Linked DNA regions of Homo sapiens: region 1 is linked to region 2. The links are contacts of gene promoters, found by promoter capture Hi-C in human tissues and cell types (Jung and others, 2019). All regions are on one chromosome and are shown on one strand. Each heading gives the region's core, a stretch centred on a gene start or on the middle of the fragment in contact. The rest is flanking DNA. Distances are from core to core; before and after follow the strand shown.

What was found. Contacts are between HindIII fragments. The study calls those that stand out against the background at their distance.
Region 1: a contact is called between a fragment that was not itself captured here and the fragment with the promoter of HLF in region 2, in 1 of the 25 tissues and cell types used here (dorsolateral prefrontal cortex).

What each region holds. Positions count from the first base shown.
Region 1 is chr17:55,767,145-55,772,320 of GRCh38, reverse strand. It overlaps PCTP (phosphatidylcholine transfer protein), which reads right to left. Exons shown (of 6, transcript NM_021213.4): 2 at 4,869-4,986; 3 at 1,136-1,215. Among named protein-coding and RNA genes, the nearest start is that of PCTP, 19 kb to the right of the region's middle. The HindIII fragment of the contact is 3,503 bases long and covers 1,154-4,656 here.
Region 2 is chr17:55,262,008-55,267,758 of GRCh38, reverse strand. HLF (HLF transcription factor, PAR bZIP family member) reads right to left here and starts at 2,799. Exons shown (of 4, transcript NM_002126.5): 1 at 2,160-2,799; 2 at 1-8. The coding sequence starts at 2,274. RefSeq lists a silencer at 2,676-2,995. The HindIII fragment of the contact is 14,198 bases long and covers 1-3,987 here.

The DNA of each region.
Region 1 (5,176 bases), core at 1,656-4,155, 500 kb before region 2:
CCACCCGCGTTCAGTCCCACCTCAGTGTCTTGACAGCGCCCCCTGTTGCCCCACCCTCACATTGGACAGTCTATTGCTCCATGCTCTTATACACTAATAAGTAAAGTTCTTAAATGTTTCAGGAAAGAGATGTTGATTTGTCACTGGGTTCCTTTCTCCTACACCTTTTACTTTTTCCTTTTAGCAAATATTGTTCCACTCTCTCCCCCAACTTTCTCAGCTCATGTGATAGATATCATCTGATACTCCACGGAGGAAGAATTATCTTGATATAGTGATTAAAATTTGGCAGAACACCTTTGAAGTGTTGGCAGTTCATCTAATTCAGTGGCTTCCAAACTTTTTTTTGACTCCAAGAGACCCTTTGCTAAAAGGATCTTACATGGAAATTGAACCTGTAAAACACTCCGCTGCTGGGATTGAAGAGCATGGTGAAGGAGTCAAAATCTTACCTAGGAGTCATCCTACTTCCATCCTACCCACCCCCAAAATTCCATCCTAGCCCCCCAGCTTAGTCCTAAGGGGGCTTCTGAAGACCTTACAGTGCCAGCCAAGCCTCCCTACATTTCATTCAACTGCTTCATTTCATAAACAAGGACATTGAGGGGAAGAAGCTTACAGTCAGTGTCCAGAGCCAACAATCAAGGAGGGATTTCTGTGGGGTCTACTGAGATGGGGGAGGCGGAGAGAGCTGGAAATGCAGAGGCCTGAGTTCCAGCACCTGCTCTGCCACTAACCACCTATGTGCCTCTGTCCTATCACCTCTTTGGGAGCCCTTTTTCCTTCTGTAGACTGAGGGAGCTGTAACAAGCACTTTTTATAAGAAGTTCCTTCCAGATCCCCAATTCTGTGGCCTGACAATTTCAAGGCCTAGGAAACTTCTTAGGAAAGTAAGAGCTGCTCTCCAGTGACCAAAATTACAGACACTTCATGTGGTTGGGCCCAGAAATCACACTCTGAGCTCTCCAAACACCATACAAGAAGCAATATCTTTAGCAAATGCTGCTGCAAGAATCAGAGACAATGTTATCTGTGCCTGCTGAGAAACCAGCTCTACCTCTCTGCAATAGACTGCAGCTGAGGAACACAGAAACACTTAGAGGGCCAGGGAATGAGTACCTTGTGGAAAGGATACGTCTCTGTTGGACATGGGAAAAGGGTACTTCACTTCCCAGTAGACCACAGTCTCTCCGTTGCATTCTTGTTCATAGAGTTCTAAAGGAAAGCAAAAGAAGTTAATGCATCTGGAAGCCTTTTTAGCTACAACTAATAAGGGTATGACCTCTTAGGCCAAGCATGGTGGCTCATGCCTGTAATCCCAGCACTTTTTGAGGCCAAGGTGAGTCAATTGCTCAAGTCCAGGAGTTCAAGACCAGCCTGGGAAATATGGTGAAACCCCATCTCTATATATAAAAAAAAAAAAAAGCAAAAAAATCAGCCAGGTATGGTGGTGCATGTCTGTAGTCCCAGCTACTCTGGAGGCTGAGGTAGGAGGATCATCCAAGCCTAGCAGGTCAAGGCTGCAGTGAGCCAAGCCATGATTGCACCACTGCACTCCAGCCTGGGTGACAGAATGACACCATGTCTCAAGAAAAAAAAAAAAAAAGATGACCTCTTAGGTTATGATAAACCACTAACTCATAAGGTATAAAATTCTAGAAAAAAGTCAAACCGATTAATTTCCACTGAAAGCTTATTGCCCAGGGACAGAGTCTAGTGGATAGAAAAACACAGCACAAATAAAAGAAGCCAACAAATCTTGGCCATTCTATAGCATAATCAATATTCTTGATAGAATGCAATGAAACAAAATCAGACATCAAAAAAATAGTCAGAGGTTTTAAATTCAGGATAACCACCAGATGTCACTAGAGTACCAATAGTTTTGCTTCTGAGCCCTTTAATTCCCCTTTAGGATTCCTTGATCCATTACAGCTAACCTGGAACGGAGTCACCCAGTCTAGCACATTCATAGGTCGGATATGAAGGTTCCAGAATGAGCAACGTCCTTCTTGAATAGTTAGAGATCAGCAGAACTATGGCTTACCCCAAGTTTCTTTCTTCTCTCCCATGTTTCTTTGCACTATGCCACAGCTAGGGTGACCAAATTTCCCTAATAATCCTTCCGTCTTACTATTATGTGCAAACAGCAGCCAACTCTTGGAGGGAGATAGCAAAGAAATTTAATGGCATGCACACCCTCTGTCCCCAGACTGTGCTGTGCAGTAAACTTCTTTCTACCTCCAGTTAAAGGAGCCCAAAGTCCCTGGAGGAGATGGTAAGGAGGGATAATTTAGGTTTTGAAAGAAAATCTATTAGAAGCACACTGTAGATTAAGGAGTGTGCCAGCCCATTAAGGTCACAGGAGGCTGATGAGAGTCCTTAAAAGAAAGGGAGAGGTGGACATCTGTTGCTTTTACATGCTCAGCATTGATCGCCCCTTGAGCATCTCAATTTTCCTTCAGGGCATCACCCTTCCCCTACTTCTCAGCTGCATGGTTTCGCAAGACTGACTCTGCAGTAATTTCAGGGCTGGGAAAATGAGCAAGACACGGCCATGGTGACGAATTCAGGGATGGCAGATCTGTCCAGAGTCGTAGTTAGTCACTCTAGCAAGTTGAGAGCAAAAAGTGATTTAGTAAAGCTCTCGGATGGACCAGAGTGAGATTTCCAACCTCAAGATTGTTCCAGCAAAGCCTAACTGCTGCTTCCACTGGATGAGAACCCAGAGTGAAAGCTGTTGATGTTGGGGAGCAAACATCAGAGACTCAGCAGTTGTTTTCCCTAAAGTCAGATGCCATCACTGGTCACTGAAAAATGGATCTTCCATGCTGCCTGCTTCCTCACATGGCTCTTTTCCAAATTGAAGCCACATGTGGGTCTTATTGGCAGAGTCTATGTCACATGACTGTATCTTGGCTGCAAGGGAGGCCTGGACAGACAGTGTCTGGCTGTTCCCTTGGATAGGTAAGCATCCCACTGCCCCCTAAATAGGAAGAGTATTTGAGAACACTAAGTTGCCCAAAACCATGATGAATGTCCACAGAAAATAAGCACAAACTCCAAGCTGAGCTGACAAGAGCCAATCCTGGCATCTGGCTGTCATCCCTAGAAAAGTAGAATTCTCCTTCCTCTGGGGTTATTCATATGGTTAGAATATAAATCTGGATCTTCTGGCAGACATCTTGGCCATGACATAAGAATCTGCCTAGGAATTAGGTCAACACAGAAGAAAACAGAGTCTACAGATGGAGAAAGAAACAATCCTGATGAAATTATTTAAGTTCCCTGTTGCAGCTGTCCTCAAAGTTAGAAACCCCTGGACTTTTTTCAATGCCATGAACTAATAAACTCCTTTTTCTCTTCTTACACTGTCTTTAGTTGGCTTTCTGTTACTTGCAACCAAGAGTCTTGACTAAAGGCTTTATGTGCCTTTGGCTAGTTTCATAGTTCCATTCCACTATGACTGGGTTGGCAGAGGCTACTCCAGCTCTAAGTGGCAGGAGAAGTCCCTGTGTGATGTCTTTCATAACACATAACTTACAGGGAAAAATCTAAGACCGATAGCCTGGTCGCCATGCTAGGCCCTGGAGGATCTGGACCCAACAGCTGCCCTAGTTCGCCTAGTAGTAGAAGAACCTACCCTAGCTCTTCGACTACTACTAGTACTAGTTCTATTAGCTAGTTCTACTAGTACTAGCAGTACTAACAATAGTAGTAGTAGAACTAGTACTAACAGTAGTCGAAGACCTAGGATAGGTTCTCTTACTCCAACCAACCCAACAACACCAAACTGCTGGCGGCTATTGAACATATTGCTTCACGCTTTCCTGACCTTACTAATGCTGATCCCTGAGCCTAGAATGCTCTTAACCAGTCATCCTGTCCCTCTCTTACCTCCTCACATACATGTATTCTTCTCTGTTTGGAAAATTTTGATTCAACTCTCAAACCAAAACTTGGACCGCACCTCCTCCCCTTTCATGACAACCTAGATACATGGGAGGATCACACAACTTAAAAGTGGCAGCAAAGGAGCCCCAAGAGCAAACTGTGGAGAGGATCTAAAACTAGGTAAGGAGCAAGTCCTAGCAATAGCAAAAGTGCATTTCAGTCCAACATTTAAAATGCTTTTGTGCCAAAATTTAATAGGAAGCACTATGTAGTAGAAGTTAATTTTATTTTTTTCTACTGGCAAGAATAAATAAAAATAGATTAGACTTTTTTTTTTTTTTGAGACAGGGTCTCCCTCTGTTGTCCCTGCTGAAGTACAGTCTTGGCTCACTGCAACCTCTGCTTCTTGGGTTCAAGCAATTCTTAGTGCCTCAGCCTCCTAAGTAGTTGGGACTATAGGCATGCGCCACCATGCCCAGCTAAGTTTTGTATTTTTAGTAGAGACGGGATTTCACCATGTTGGCCAGGCTGGTCTCAAACTCCTGGCCTCAAGTGATCTGTCCGCCTCAGCCTCCCCACGTGCTGGGATTACAGGCGTGAGTCACTGCATCTGGTCAGAATAGATCTACTTTTTAATGATCAAAAAAAAAAAAAAAAAAAAGCACTGGGTGCAGCGGCTCATGCCTGTAATCCTAGCACTTTGGGAGGCCAAGGCAAGCGGATCACCTGAGGTCAGAAGTTCAAGACCAGCCTGACTAACATGGAGAAACCCTGTCTCTACTAAAGATACAAAAATTAGCCAGGTGTGGTGGCGGGCGCCTGTAGTCCCAGCTACTCAGGAGGCTGAGGCAGGAGAATCGCTTGAACCCAGGAGGCGGAGATTGCGGTGAGCTGAGATCCTACCTTTGCACTTCACCCTGGGCTACAAAAGTGAAAGTACGTCTAAAAAAAAAAGAAAAGCAAGCATCACTCACCTTTAACATACTGGTCCCATTGTTTTCTGTAATCTGAGTCCATATAGATGTCTGCCAGTAGAGTTGGTGAGCAGTCCTCCAGAACACCAAAGACTTTATACTCATAAAGTCCAGTCTTCTATAAAAACAGAACAGGTAGAAATGTCTATTGGTTCCCAAGTTGAGAGAAAGCTGCATTCCACATAATTAAACTAAAGAGCTTCTGCACAGCAAAAGAAACTACCATCAGAGTGAACAGGCAACCTACAAAATGGGAGAAAATTTTCACAACCTACTCATCTGACAAAGGGCTAATATCCAGAATCTAC
Region 2 (5,751 bases), core at 1,550-4,049:
ACTAAATGCTGCAGAAGAAGGGAAAGCTGGACTTAAAAAAAAAGAAAGAAAAGAAAAACAATACCGCTCTTTTATCACTTTTCCTGGCCTGTTATAAGACTATTTCTCACGAATGGCAGGGTCCTTCTCTGGCTGCTGTCTTTTGTAGATCTAGAGTTAAAAGTTCAGGCAGGACGTGGATCTCTGCCTGTTTTTCAACATCTTCCTATTTACTTTGGAAAGAAGGCACTAGTCCTTGGGGCAGGGCTACAGGCTGATCTAGGATAAAAACCAGAGAACAGTCTCAGCACATTATTTGAGAAGAGTAATAACTTAAACCTAAAATAGGAATATAACATCTGTGATTATATACAACTGCTGTCATTTTTAAGAAAACAACAGCCAATAACCAGGCTTGAATTATCTTCCAGGAATTCATCACAGCAGCAATAGGAGGTCATTCAGACTTACAAAGCCAGTGAGTTAGTGGTCTTAATTTTGGTAAAGCAGGGACCTTCCACCCTTCTTTAACATCATGTTTAGAGTACCTACTGGATACCTGGTTCTTTCCATATATTATCTCAAAAATCTCACAATAAACTTGCAAAATAACAATTACCTCCATTTACAACAAAGACTCGGAGGCTCTGAGACTTGAGGGAACTTGACCAATGCCTCATGTTGGCAGAGAATGAGAACTTTCTGAGCTCACATGTGTTTGCTTCTAAAGCCACTGGGGCACACTGATTTTTACAAAAGGAGTTTAAAAAAATACAAAGTGTTTTCTTCCTTCTCTTCTCCAAACATTTGAGTATGATCCAATTTACAAAGAGTATGCATTTACAAAACCTTTCAAAAGCAGAGCTATTGGAAAAGGTGAGTTATTCTATACATTTATGTTGGAAGTATGCAGCTATTTGCTACCTGGAAGTACTGCTCGCCCATTAGGTCTTTAACAAGCATTCCGGATCTTGCCAATTCTAGTATTCAGTCGTGGGTGGAATCTGGGATTAAGGAATTTGCTTCTGAGTTTCATCTTCAGAGAAACACAGCCTCCACTGCCATCCATTCTAACCCTCTACCATCTCATCTGAAAATCTGACTTAAAACACCCACAGATGCAAAAGCCTGCAGGCAGCCCCTTCCTCCCAAATGCTCTTCCTTAAAGGATAGTTAGGGAGGGGTCCCTGGCTATCATCTGCAGATTGCAAACTCTTGCAATGCAACAGGTTGTCCTCTCCTAGAAAAGAAGGTGCAAGTACTCCCAAGCTATTTGTAGCCAAATAACCTTTCAGAACTTTACACTGTGAGCCGCACGGTTCGCATTTGCTACTGTGATACCGAAGGCATGAAATCGCATCAACCCAAATCCGTGGCATCACTTAGCCGGGTTTGGGGCCTCATCACACGTACCCCTCCTCTACTGCTAAGGCCAAGGTTGTCTTGGGAAGGTTTGGGACTTACCAAGAAAGGGCTCAAGCCAGAGGAGGCTCCTGCGCGGTTACACGTGAGCCTGCTCCGCTCTCCCCTCCCACCAGAAAAAGTGCACCGGGAAAGTGTCAACGCTGGAGGCGTGCACGGCTTCCCGCCGAGAGACCACTCCCCCCACCGGCCCCAGCCCCCACCCCGCTTTCTCAGCTACCCTTCACCAGAAGAAAACGAGTCTTCTCTCACACCTCGTGAGTTCCAAATACTAACCAGTAACAGAAGCTGTAACACAACCCCAAAACCCAGGCTACGCAGTGAAACCCCCTCCCTCAAGCCGACCCCCGCCCCCTGCCCCGCACAGAACCAGGCCCCAGGGTTTCTCCTCCCCAGCCCGGGAGGCTCTGCCCTCCGCAGGCGGGCTCGCTCTGCGTGCGGGTGTGCCTCGTTCTAGGGAACGATCCTGACCTGTCAAGTTACACCTCCCACCCGCGCCGCAGGAGCGGGACCCAGGGAGGCCGGGTGCCCGAAGCTCTTTTAAATGTAGCTCAGGAGGGGTCCCTCCCCTTTCATGGAGGAGGAGGAAGGGGAGGAAGGGTGCTGGGTGAGCTCCTCAATTTCATCAGCGCGGGGCCGGGGCGCCGCGGGACAGGGCGGGAGCGGGGTTGGGGGATGCTCCAGCGGGCGTGCCCGGCCGCGGAGGGGGACCCCCGGAGCGTCGTCCCTTCCCGGAGCGGGGCCGCGGCAGCGCTCACCGTCTTCGTGGTGAAGGGGGAGCTTCAGCGGGTTCTCCAGCAGGGACCTGAGCACGCCGTAGGGAGGCGGGATAAAGGTGGGATTCAGGGGGAGCGGTCGGGACATTTTCTCCATCGCGATGCACTCAAATTTTTTCCCCTTAAAAAAAGAAATAAGAAAGAAACAACCGCCCCCTAAAATGTTGCTGAGCTTTTCCTCCGTCCTTTGCCAAAAGTACTCGCTCTCAAGGCGGTGGAGAAAAGGGAAGAAAAAAATTACTTATATCTTTATAAATACATCTGCATAAAAATATATATTAAAAAAAAACTTTCGGGTTTCCAGTGCAGACGGTCCCAGGAGAGCGCGCCAAGTGCCCGCGGGCTCCCCGGCGACGTGCAGGATGCTCTCACCTGCCTCGAACCCCTCGTTTTGCAAAATGTTCAAAATTGAAAAAAAGAAAGAAAAAAAAATGTCGACGGCTGCAGAAGGGCAGAAGACACCGCGCCGACCCCAGCCCCTAGTGCCAGCACCGGAGGCGGTGCGCCGTCCCACCCCACCCCCCTCCCCGCGCCGGCGGCCGCTGCTCCCCAGCGCTCCGCGGCCCCGCAGCGCCGGGCTCAGCGCATCCGGCCGCCCATGTGCCGCGGCCCTGACAAGAGTGACGTCAGGGCCCGCACCTCGCGCCCATAGGCGTGCGGGGGCGGGGCCACGCGCGGCACCGCCCGCCTGGCCCGCTCGCCCCGCCGCCGCGTGTTTAGCGTCGCCGCTCGCGCCGATTTTCGGGGACCTTGCAGCACTGGCTGGTTGCAGGGGAGCAGGTGCCAGATTCCCTGGGCCATCAACTTAGGCTTAGATTTTTTTTTTTTTTTTTGGTCTGGGTGGGAAGAGGAATGAGAAATTTATATCCATAGTTTTCAAGCTGGGAATAACCTGAGGAGTTTTAAAAAAATCGCGATACCCAGGCCGCATCCCAGATCAATTAGATCAGAACCTCTGCGGTGCTATCAGGGCGTCCATAATTTTTAAAGCTCCCCAGGTGGTTCCAAAGAGTAGCCAAGTTTGAGATGATTGGTTTAGATCGGATGGAAGGTAACGACCCTTCTCAATATTTCTCCTGGCCCCGGCCAAGCTTAGCGTCTTCTTTCTTGCCCAGTTTCCACCACCACCAAAAAATAACTACTTCCTATAAGTCCGAATGGGATGCAAAAAGCAGAGCGGGAAGCGGAGGACTGAGCTGCTGGGCACTGTTTCCCACGCTGCAGAGAGGTGTTAACGGTGGGGGGAGAGGGGGGGTAGACATTTGCCTGAAACGGAAAGAGGCGGGAGAGACACAGACACACTGAACGGGATTTTAGGAATATTTACTCTGGGTGAATACAGGTGATTGCGCTTGGGTCAAGTTATTAGGTTTGCACGGTGATTAAAATAATTTTGTAAAGTATCCCCTAAGGGGGCTTCGGCTTTCCTTGCTGTTACAGCAGCTGCAGCGTCTCCCTCTGCCAGTTTGACCTCGTGGCACCCACGGTCCCCGAGATCTGCGTGCGACCCCCTGTGTGATAACTCCCTTCCCGCCTGGGGTGGTGCGGGCGCTGGCGTGCAGCCGCGACGCCCCCTGCAGAGCTCCGCGGGGGGCCAGGCAGGTTCTTCCCCTCCCTCCTTACCTCTCCTTACTAAGACCCTAGTCTTCGATCTGGGGAAGGGGCTGCAAGAACGAATGGGCACAAATGAAAGAAAACCGTTTTTCAGTGGGACGTAAAGGCCTTTGTGACCCCAGGCTGAGTCGCTGGGGAAGGATGTGGTGGTGTCTTGATGGGGTTTACTTCCCCAGGAGAGGGTTGTAAGAGAGGAGGCGCCTGAAACCCCAGAGATCAGGAGCGGCGGCGCAGCGGGGTTCAGAGTTCCCTGGCAGGGTGATTCCGGCAAGTGCCTTTCTGCCCTGAGCTGTAGGTTCTTCATAAAAGGACACGTAATCTAGTGACCTCTACTTCCTCACTCTAAAATTATGGCAAAAGGGTAAGGCAACATTCTAAGTGAGATGTTGTTGCAGTGTTTCAGGTTTCAGACGAATTCCAGAAACAGCAAACTTTTAGTTAATGCCACATGCATTTATTGAGCACCACGGTATGTATGCCAGCGACTATGCGGGGGCTAGTGAAAAAAGATGAATAAAACATAATTTTAACCTTCAAGAACTCATCGTTTAGGGTTTGGCATATAAGCAAATAATATAAAATAGGCTTAAAAGAACAAAAATGGATAGATGGAGGTGACAGGGGCACTTACATTATTAGGAAAGGGATTCTAGAGAAGGTGCCTGAGCTGGGCGTGGAGGTAATAGTCTCTCGTGAACGGTCTGAATCCATCAATTATATTATATTGTTTTTTTAAAAAATAAAAAAGGGACCTCATCTCCGCTATCCTTTTGGAGACAGAGGCTATTTCCCTGTCTTGAGTTCCTTACATCCCTGTAAGTCCATAAACTGGCAGGACTGAGAGCATCCTCTCAGCCTGGTTAGAAATCTGTTAGATTGCAGATTCCAGGTGCATGAAAGATGCGTTACCTAAGCTTTGTGTAACAGTCCACTGACATTACTCAGCACGCCCAAAGTGCTCCACCTGCTCATGATTCTCCGCATGTCCTCACTTCCCCATGTTTCCAGACATGAAACTCTTACCAGGTCAAGTAATCTGGTTTCCCAGGGTAATCTTCTCCTTACCACCTGACAGAACCAAATACTGTGGCTTGGAAATTGCATTTCTCATTGCAAGTGGATAAACTGGCGTTCTGGTTGATCAAGCAGTTTCTTGGGAATTTGGTTCATTTAATTTAATTTCCCTGAGCCTGATCAACATGTCACGGACCAGATTGAGGACCAGCCCCTTAGACCATGGTGACTCCCTCTCACTTCTCTCCATCCTTCTCTAACTTCAAAGGTATTTCTTAGAGCCTCAAAAATTATAAGCATTGGCTAATCTTCAATCTAGCCCCATTCCTTAACAAGATAAATGAAATTGGTACATCTTTTCTACTCTGGCCATTTGTAAATGTTATTTTCTTTTATTTTTTTAACAAACCATGAACATCTTTCTTTCTCTTTCTCTCTCTCTCTTCCCCAGAAGCAGTTGTGGATGGCTGCTCAAGAGGAAGGAGAGGGATAGAAGAAACCAAAGGTTATATTGGTTGGGTAGTAAGACCCTCTGAATTCCACAGGTTAATTCTCAAATGGACATATCCCTAATGAGCACTAACCCCAATCTGCACATATGCCCAGAGATAACTGCCGCTCACAAGTGCTTAGCACTTGTCCACTTACAGAGCCCTTCCATATGTGTCATATCACATACTTCTGACAATTCCATGAGGAAAGCAATGATGCTGATTATTGATTGCTGTGTAACAGATCACTCCAAAACCTAGTGGCTTAAAACAACAATCATTTTATTATTTCTCATTATTCTGCAATCTAGGTTAGGCTCAGCTGGGATACTGGGCTGGCTGGCCTTCTCTTTCTCTTTACATGGCCTCCTTACACCATAGATTCATTTTGCTTGTTTTATAATTTCATACAAGTGAAATCATACTGTATATACTCTCTTGTGTGTAGCTTCTTT